Regions from separate parts of the Homo sapiens genome. Here region 1 is linked to region 2. Evidence: promoter capture Hi-C in human tissues and cell types (Jung and others, 2019). All regions are on one chromosome and are shown on one strand. The core of a region is centred on a gene start or on the middle of the fragment in contact, and the rest is flanking DNA. Distances in the headings are between cores, read along the strand shown.

Region 1 (4,564 bases), core at 90-2,589, 140 kb before region 2:
ATGATAAAGAATTTTCTTAACTCAGCTTTTCCTCCCAGTGCTAAGCATGCCTTCTCATTTCACGCGGGGGCTGCTCTGGTGTCAAGCCCCGTGGAAGAAGCCTCTTGTGAGGCCAGCCCCAGAGCCTTGAACTCTGGCCTGCATCGAAGCATTCCACTTCCCCGACCACAGTCTTTCTTTCTCTGCTGTTTCGCCCAAGCGCTCCCGGTATCCGTCCGCTGAAGGGTGACGTTCATTGACTCTGGAAGTCCCCTCTCATCTTAACCTTTTCCTTAAGGCATCAGGTTTGTCCAAGTTTTGGAACCAAAGCCCCTGTCCACGAGCTGGTTTCCTGACTTTTTTTCTATCTGACATGAGGGAAGCTGGAAGTCCTAGATTTCCTAAGCACCGACACGCTTCCTGCTATAGGTGGGCTGGTGGACCTGCTCTGAGCCGGCTCTGCCTCCCGTCCTAGCACTGTGCACATGTAATTGATCACCTCCTGGATGACCACAAGGAAAAAAGGTCTGGGAACTATGACAAAGGCTGGAGAGCTCCAAGTAAAAGATGCATCATTCACTTGGCCAACTCTTCGTCACCAAGACATGCCAGTAAAATCAACCACATGGAGTTGTCCTGTGTATGAAAAGCCCTTAGCTTATTGGAACAAATTGGAGAATAGCCATTAGCAAAGTCAAGTGGTTTACAAAGCCCATTAGAAAGAGATCAGTATCTGAGCTGTAGATGTTTCTATTTTCAATCAAATTTCTTTTTAATGAAAACTAATTTTTAAGGGCAAGATACCACAGCAGAAGAAAAACGTCTTGCAAGAAAAGACTTCATGGTTTACAACGATCAAATGTATGGGCTATTTGCCTGATTGGTGGCCTGGACTCAGCAAGAGATTCCTTTGCAGCAGAGGTTGGCCACACATCTGGGGGCTGCAACACCACTGAAAAGACAGCTTTCTAAGCATTAGTGTAAGGCAAAAAGCAGAGTGCCTAAACTTGTCCATTTCCACCAAGAAAAAAAGTTTCATAGCAACCTTCCTTCACCAGAAAGGCTTACTTTATGATATGCTAACAGAACAGAAAAGCAGGTTGGGACAAGATACAGACTTTGTTGCATTTAGCTATGACCCTTCTCTCCCCTCTGTGGATGTGGGCAGGGTGGGGAGAGGCAGGAAGAGGCAGTAGAGGGAAATGACATTTGCACTCAGGCTTCCCGCCCCTACCCACCCCTACCCTTCGCCCAGACAGACGTCGGATCTATGCTGCACCAGGGGTGGGTCATGGAGTCCAGCTAATTGCCAGGAGCTGAGGCGTGTACAAGCCATGAAAAGAGCTGCCCCACGGCCTCCCCACATCACTGTCCTTCATGCACTTGCATCTTTAAGGCTGCCAGCTTCAGAGCTCCCTGGACATTCCCCGGCCAAGTGTCATCCCTGTGTCAAATGGATGGGATGCCAGGTAATCCTTGTACTCCCCGTCAATCAGTTTGGCGGCATTGTTCCTGGCAAACCAGCAGTCTATCTGCTCTTCCCCGTTGTAAATCTTCCTTTGCTTCCAGACCACTGGGACTTGGTGGCCTTTCACTGTTAGGACGGCCTCAGGCCCCTCTCCCACCTGAAGGAGCAGAGGGTGAGTGAGGTTCTGGCTGGGCCCTGCAGGGTCTTCTGTGAGTCTGGCATCCTGATTCAGGAACTGACCTGGGAGGACAAGGAAAAGCATCGGGTCTCAGTCAAATGCAGAAACCTCGTGCTGAACTCCAACTTCAGAGCTATCAGTGGCAGAAAGGCTTACAACTGGCCACAGCCCGAGACTGGACTCTCCCAGTGACATGGAAGAACATGTGCTCTGGGGGGCAGGGTGGAGAGAGCTGAGGATTTATCCACATTGTGGGATTTACCCATGACTGCTGGAAGCTTCCCAGCTGCTAACACTAGAAAGTTGTGTAACCTACACATAGTGATAACCACGGTCTCCTACTGAGTCCAGAGGACAGGACGGGGCATATGAAGAGGGAAGTAGTGTTCCATCTTCTCTCTGTCCTCTTCCCAGTCACAGGCCCGCCTCCTTTCTATCCGTCTCAGGTCTGTGCCGGGTGGGGGTGGAAAGCAGTCAGCTCAGATCCTCTCTGACCCTCGTCCTCAGGACTCTCCTGGTCAGATGGCAGCACTGCTCAGGCCACAGGAATAAAGAGCTGTGTCTGCAAGGGGAGCTCATGCTGGGCCGCCAGGCCCCACGAAACGCGGCCAGCTCAAGAGCCAGGAAATCCTGCCTACTAAACTGAACCCTGACAATGGCTTGCTCTTTATTTTTGGGCAAGGGGCCCACATGAAATTACACGTTGAAGAAAGCTGGGTAGAATGGCCCGCCTGCTGGGCACGGCCACGTGGGTGCCCCCCCGGTGGGGGTGTCGCTCAGGCTGGGCGCTGGGCAGGGCTGCCTCGTGTCTGTGTATTCTTGCTGAGAGCAAAGGAACTGGACCCTCAGGTGACTACATTTTAATTCCTCATTCATTTTTCCAGAAGGCTAAAGAGAACTACTGGTTTATAAAGCCCATTCCTAGCTCACAAAGCCCAGGAAGGAATCTAATTTTCATATTACATATGTAGTAATCTAATGTTCATATTACATATATAGTAATCGAATTTTCATATTACATATGTAATTTTCATGTTACATATATAGTCATGCACCACATCATGACATTTTAATCAATGATGGACTGAAAATATGATGGTGGTCCCATAAGATTATAATAGCATATTTTTAGTGTACCTTTTCTATGTCTAGATATGTTTAGATGAACAAATACTTATCATCGTGTTGCAATTGCCTGCAGTAGTCCATGCAGTCACATGCTGTACAGGTTTGCAGCCCGGGAGCAATAGGAGACACCACATAGCCTAGCTGAGTGGGTAGTATGCGACACTATCTAGAGAGGTTTGTGTAAGGATATTCTAGATGGTCACGTAATGACCAAATCACCTAACGACCATTAGAATGTATCCCTGTCATTAAGCAAGGCATGACTGTGTGTGTCGGTGGGTGTGAATATATATAATATGTACATACATACACAGACTGTGTATGTGTACACACACACATATATACAGACTGTGTGTATATATACACACACACACCATAGACTGTATACATACATACATATATACATACATACACAGACTGTATATGTATACACACACACATACATACATATACAGACTGTGTGTGTATATATATATATATACACACACCATACATACACAGACTGTATACATACATATACATATACACACACGTTCATACATATAGACTGTATACCTACATATATACATATATACATACATAGACTGTATATATATATACATATATACACACATAGACTGTATATATATATATACACACACACACACACATACATATACAGACTGTGTATATATACACACACCATACATACATACAGACTGTATATATAAACACACATACATACACAGGCTATATATATATATATACACACACATACACACACATCATACATACATATATACACAGAGTGTATACATACATATACACATATACACAGACTGTACATATATACACACACCATACATACAGACTGTATATATATATACACACACACATCACACATACAAAGATGGTATACATATATATATACATACACAGACTATGTATGTATATATACACACATATCATGCACACATACATAGACAGTATACATACATATATACACATAGACTGTGTATATATACACACAGACATACATATGTACATATACAGACTGATTATATATTATGTATATGTGTGCATATATAGACTGTATATATACATACTTATCAGTCTGTGTATACATATATACATACAGACGGTATATATAATACATATATACATGTATATTTATAATATATAATACATTATGTATATGTATATATGTATAGACTGTATATATATACACACACATACATATACAGACCATATACACATACATATACAGACTGCATATATAATATATATTATGTATTTATATAGAGAGACTATATACACATATGCAGTCTGCATGTACACATATGCATACATACAGACTATATATAATACATATATACATATATATGTATAGTATATAATACATTATGTATATGTATATATGTATAGACTATATATATGTACACACACACATACATACATACATATGCGGACTGTATATATAATGAAAACCACATTCCTATTGAATTTCTCAATCAAACGAAAGGTGTTGGCAATATCAGCTTTGCTTGGGAAATGTAACTCTGCCCTCTATGCCCAGCGTGAGGAGAGCGCAGCTTCCTACCCAGCAGTCCGTGGCAGTTGCTGGAAAGGCCCTCGCTGTTGGCAATGTAGAAACCCAGGTGGTGTCGCTGGAAGGGCGCCGGCTTTTTGTAGAGGTGGATGAGGATGACAAAGGCTATGGAGCCCTGGATGGTGACGGTGACATTGGCGTTGGCAGACACGGACACCTCCAGCCCCCAGCTCCCCACCACCACACTCTGGTTGCAGGGGAGCACCAGTCTGTCCCCACCATC
Region 2 (4,955 bases), core at 2,402-4,901:
AGAGGTAAGGAACACAGAATAGGAAAGAACTGAAATGGCTCAACAGCAAAGCCACGTTTCCATGGCTTAAGAACCAATGAGAGAATCCGTTCCATGCTCTCTAACTTCCCATTTTTGGCTTGTGATACTGCTATTCAGTTTCAAATATTTTTCTTTTGAAACATCTTTATGTTCTGGCCTCAAATGATACAAACCCACACCTGGCCAGGCACAGTGGCTCACATGTAATCCCAACACTTTGGGAGGCCAACATGGGTGGATTACTTGAGTCCAGGAGTTCAAGACCAGCCTGGGCAACATGGTGAAACCTCACATCTACAAAATATACGCTCACACAAAAATCAGCTGGGTGTGGTGGTGTGCACCTGTAGTTTCAGCTACTCAGGAGGCTGAGATGGGAGGATTGCTTGAGCCCAGGAGGTTGAGGCTGCAGTAAGCCATGATTGCATCACTGCACTCCAGCCTGGGTGATAGAGTGAGACCCTGTCTCCATTAAAAAACTAAAACAGGCTGGGCGCGGTGGCTCAAGCCTGTAATCCCAGCACTTTGGGAGGCTGAGGCGGGTGGACCACGAGGTCAGGAGATCGAAACCATCCTGGCTAACATGGTGAAACCCCGTCTCTACTAAAAATACAAAAAATTATTCAGGCGTGGTGGCAGGCACCTGTAGTCCCAGCTGCTCGGGAAGCTGAGGCAGGAGAATGGCGTGAACCCGGGAGGCGGAGCTTGCAGTGAGCCAAGATTGTGCCACTGCACTCCAGCCTGGGCAAGAGAGAGACTCCATCTAAAAAAAAAAAAAAAAACAGAACCAAAAAAAACACACCTCTGCATTACAGAGGACAAAAAAATGTAGCAGAGTAATCAAATATCATCTTTGGAAATTCAAACAGACAATCCTTGAAGAAGATGTAACAAAATGTCTTCACAATCAGAGGAAGCCATCACAGCTCAACTATGTGTAGAAAACAGACCTGCTCCATGTTATGTGCAACCTGACCCACCAAACAAGCAGGTCAGGGTCAAATATAGCTATTTTTCTGGTGAATTCATCCAGCTTTGACTTTGGACTTTTACAAACATGCTCTTTCACAATGACAGGGCTGGAGCTGAATGCTATAAATGTGAGGCAGCTATTGTTATACTGTCAGCTAAACCACAATGACTTACACTCAGTGATGAATCTCAAGTTTGTTGATATTTCCCAGAGTTCCCAATGAGTACTAAATGTTATCTCTTTGTTCAAACATTATGAAATATTGTGATTTTTTTTCTTGTAGATTTCCTACTGATTTTCACATACGTGAAAGTGAATATTCTTGTGGCATTTATGGTAGTGATTTCCATCCTAGAAATCAGTGGATATATTCAATTCACCACGTCACAGCTGCCCAGGCATGATGGGAGGGGTTGGCAGTGGGGTGGGGAGTGCAAGGGGAAAGGGTCTCAGGTTCAAGACTCAGTAGCCTGAATACACAGCCTACGCGGTCGTGCTTCTGAACATTGAGAGAGAGAGCAAATGTTGTTTTGTTTTGTTTTGTTTTCAAGAATTTGGGATCAGGCTGAGCACAGTGGCTCACGCCTATAATCCCAACACTTTGGGAGGCTGAGGCAGGTGGATTACTCGAGGTCAGGAGTTTGAGACCAGCCTGACCAATATGGTGAAACCCCATCTTTACTTTAAAAAAAATAATACAAAGTTAGTTGTGGTGGTGCACGCCCGTAATTCCAGCTACTTGGGAGGTTCAGGCAGGGGAATCGCGTGAACCTGGGAGGTGGAGGTTGCAGTAAGCCAAGATCATGCCATTGCGCTTGAGTCTGAGCCACAGAGTGACGCTCCCTCTCAAAAAAAAAAAAAAAAAAGGACTTTGGGATCTGAAGACAGAGTATCAGCATGGAAAAAAGTCCAGCCTGCTTTTGGTTTGGTTTATTCTGAGATAATTCTGAATATCAGATTAAAATAATCAGAAAGGAAATGATCAATGGAAGGAGGTATGATTTTGAAAGTCACTGCTGTTTTTGGGAGAACATGCCATTGGGTTTTTTATTATTTATTTATTTTTTTCTTTTGAGACCAAGTCTTGCCCTGTTGCCCAGGTGGAATGCAGTGGCGTGATCTCAGCTCACTCTAACCTCCGCCTCCCCAGTTCAAGCAATTCTCATGCCTCAGCCTCCCAAGTAGCTGGGATTACAGGCGCATGCCACCACACCTGGCTAATTTTTGTATTTTTAGTAGAGACGGGGTTGCACTATGTTGGCCAGGCTGGTCTCAAACTCCTGACCTCAGGTCATCCACCCGCCTCAGTCTCCCAAAGTGCTGGGATTACAAGTGTGAGCCACCGCGCCCAGCTGCCATTGGGTCTTAATTCTCCAGAAACAGTATCTCAGTCAAGAATGCAAAGCTGTGGCAGGATTTTTCCATGAGGGGTCCACTGAGGCACTCACTGGCCAAGGTGGGCGCTCAACTAGTCCAACCTAGGCAAGGGAGGGGAGAATCTGTTTTCTCCCTTCCATTATTTCAGAAGTTATGTTTCTCCAGCAGACACACGGCTGTGCAATTTCGAAGACTGAGGGGAAACTAGGGAGGAAAATGCAGAAAACTCTCTGTTGCATGCCCTGTGAATTGGGCTTTAAATGTAGCAAGGAGCTCCAGGATCCCAGAAGTTGGCCTGGGGTGCTTGGTCCTGAGGATAAGACAACCTCCCTTGTATTGTAATTCTGCCCACAGCTGGAGCTTCCTATTTCAGTGTTGCATCCAAGAAGTTACATTTCCTGTTTGTTGCAAGAAAAATAGAATCTGACCAGGATGGAGGCTAGGCATGGGGGCTCACATCTGGAATCCCAGCAGTTTCGGAGGCTGAGGCAAGCAGATAGCTTGAGCCCAGGTGTTCAAGACCAGGATGAGCAACATGATGAAATCCCATCTCTACAAAAAATAGCCAGGCAGTGTAGTGCACACCTGTAGTCCAGCTACTCTGGAGGCTGAGGTGGGCAGATTGCTTGAGCCGGGGGAAGTTGAGGCTGCAATGAGCTTTGATCTCACCACTGCACTCCAATTCTGAGACTGGGGAGTATTGATTTGCCACTGACCTGAGCCCGGCTGATAGGGGCAGCAGGACAGACACTGTTACCTTAATCAAAGACATTCACGAAGCATTCTCACTGAAGATCTGCCCTAGTATCCTGCACAGCCACTTGCCTGGGTCTTTATAGGTAACAGGTAGACAGTCATCAAAGAGATAGGGGAAAACATGCACAATGAATTCTTTGCTCAGAAAAACCCTTCTGTGTCTTCTCCCACTTTTTCTAAATTTTTCCTGCTTTCATTTAGATCAAAGGATTTTGTTTCTTGGAATAGTTCTGCACTTGGTCCTTTAGAAAGGATGACAATTATCTGTAGGTCTCTCTGATTTTAAGATCAATAGAAATCAGCAAAAGCCAAAAAATAAAAAATAAAAATAAAATAAAAGCACACAAGCACATTCAAGCACATCCATCTGCCCCTGACTTGTCCTCACAGTAAGCAACTGCTTCTGACTTTGCTGTTTGAATAACCTCTGGGTGTTCGATCCACCCACACAGCTCAAGTTTGAGCTCCAGAACAAATATTTGTCCCAATTTTGAACAAAGTTAGAGAGTTTTTTCTTCTTTTTTCTTCTTTCTTAAAGCGAACTGTACTCCTCTGCTGTTCCTTTGAACTTGGTTCAGTAGGAAGAAGTGATATCCTCCCCAGACCATCTGCTTTGGGGAGCTTGGCAAAACTGTCCAGCAAAATGAAAAGACTCACGTGCTTTTTCATCTGCTTCTTTCTTTCTGAAGTATCAGGCTTCGAAATCCCCATAAATGGACTTTCTGAAGTAAGTACTTACAGATCACTCCTTGCTGTTGGCTTGTTCATGAGCTCAGTAAATCATCTATTGGAATCGCTATTCAATGGCCTTATTCTGTGTGTAATGGAAACTTAAGATAAAATTCATCTGAGTGCAAGTGTTTACTGTTATAATTACTGGAATGTATATTTACCTTTTAAAGCATTAACAGGTTTTGCATGAAAATTAAGTCAAGATCAATGGGCAGGCATCAGAGCGTAGCATTTATGGAGCAGAGCTGCTCACTCCTCACCTAAAAAATTGGGGGTAAGAATAGACCTAACCCAATGGTTTGCTTTGAGAATTAAATGACACAGTGTAAACTCTTCTAGCAGAGCGCCTGGACTAGTAAGTGCTTAATAATTACTAGCTGTTATGATGATGAAGAAATATTATCACTCTTTTACTAAGAGTATAAGAAAAGTCATTATCAAAGCACACTGTTTTTCATATCTAAGTGAACAGTGATATTTGTAATAAGAGCACTTTAAGTATTCCTATTAAAGCGGAAGATAGCAGGCAGGGTGGAAAAGTACAAGAATAATTCCCATGGAGTACAGGTCTCCACTTTTGTCCCTTAGCCATCTCCAATGTAAGGAAAGTCTTGGACTGAAAGTCTGTTTCTGAAAGTCATACAAGAGCTATTTTTATGCCAGAAAAGCGAAGCATGTTATGGGAACATCCCAGCAAATGCAAAGGCTTATAATACTTGCAGAGTGGATTACCTATAAAAATGCCAGAGAATATGACGGCATATTTACAAAGGGAAAATATCACTCTGTCTGCTTTGAAACTATCATATTTTCCAACACTTAAAAGCCACCAGAGTGTGTTAGAAATCTCAAATTGAAGCCAAGACATCCAAATGTGTTTGTGCTTTTTCAGTCATTTCTAACTGGCATTTCCTTTTAGAAAATACCTACATTTTTAACTTGGGGAGATGTATGGTTCATGTCTGTCCAGTCAGACACTGCAAATGCCTCCAGGGTCTACCCAGATACTTCCCCAGACACCCACCTAATCACTGGGTTGTTTTGATCTCTGTCTTACCACCTGCTGGCAAACTCAAAAATGAATTCCCATGTCCAA

What was found. Contacts are between HindIII fragments. The study calls those that stand out against the background at their distance.
Region 1: a fragment that was not itself captured here is called in contact with the fragment with the promoter of ITIH2 in region 2 in 2 of the 25 tissues and cell types used here (dorsolateral prefrontal cortex and pancreas).

The regions. Positions count from the first base shown.
Region 1 is chr10:7,561,698-7,566,261 of GRCh38, forward strand. ITIH5 (inter-alpha-trypsin inhibitor heavy chain 5) reads right to left here. Exons shown (of 14, transcript NM_030569.7): 13 at 4,333-4,564; 14 at 1-1,687. The coding sequence ends at 1,386. Among named protein-coding and RNA genes, the nearest start is that of LINC02642, 91 kb to the left of the region's middle. The HindIII fragment of the contact is 6,231 bases long and covers 1-4,455 here.
Region 2 is chr10:7,699,665-7,704,619 of GRCh38, forward strand. It overlaps ITIH2 (inter-alpha-trypsin inhibitor heavy chain 2), which reads left to right and starts at 3,652. Exons shown (of 21, transcript NM_002216.3): 1 at 3,652-3,854. The coding sequence starts at 3,771. The HindIII fragment of the contact is 26,123 bases long and covers 1-4,955 here.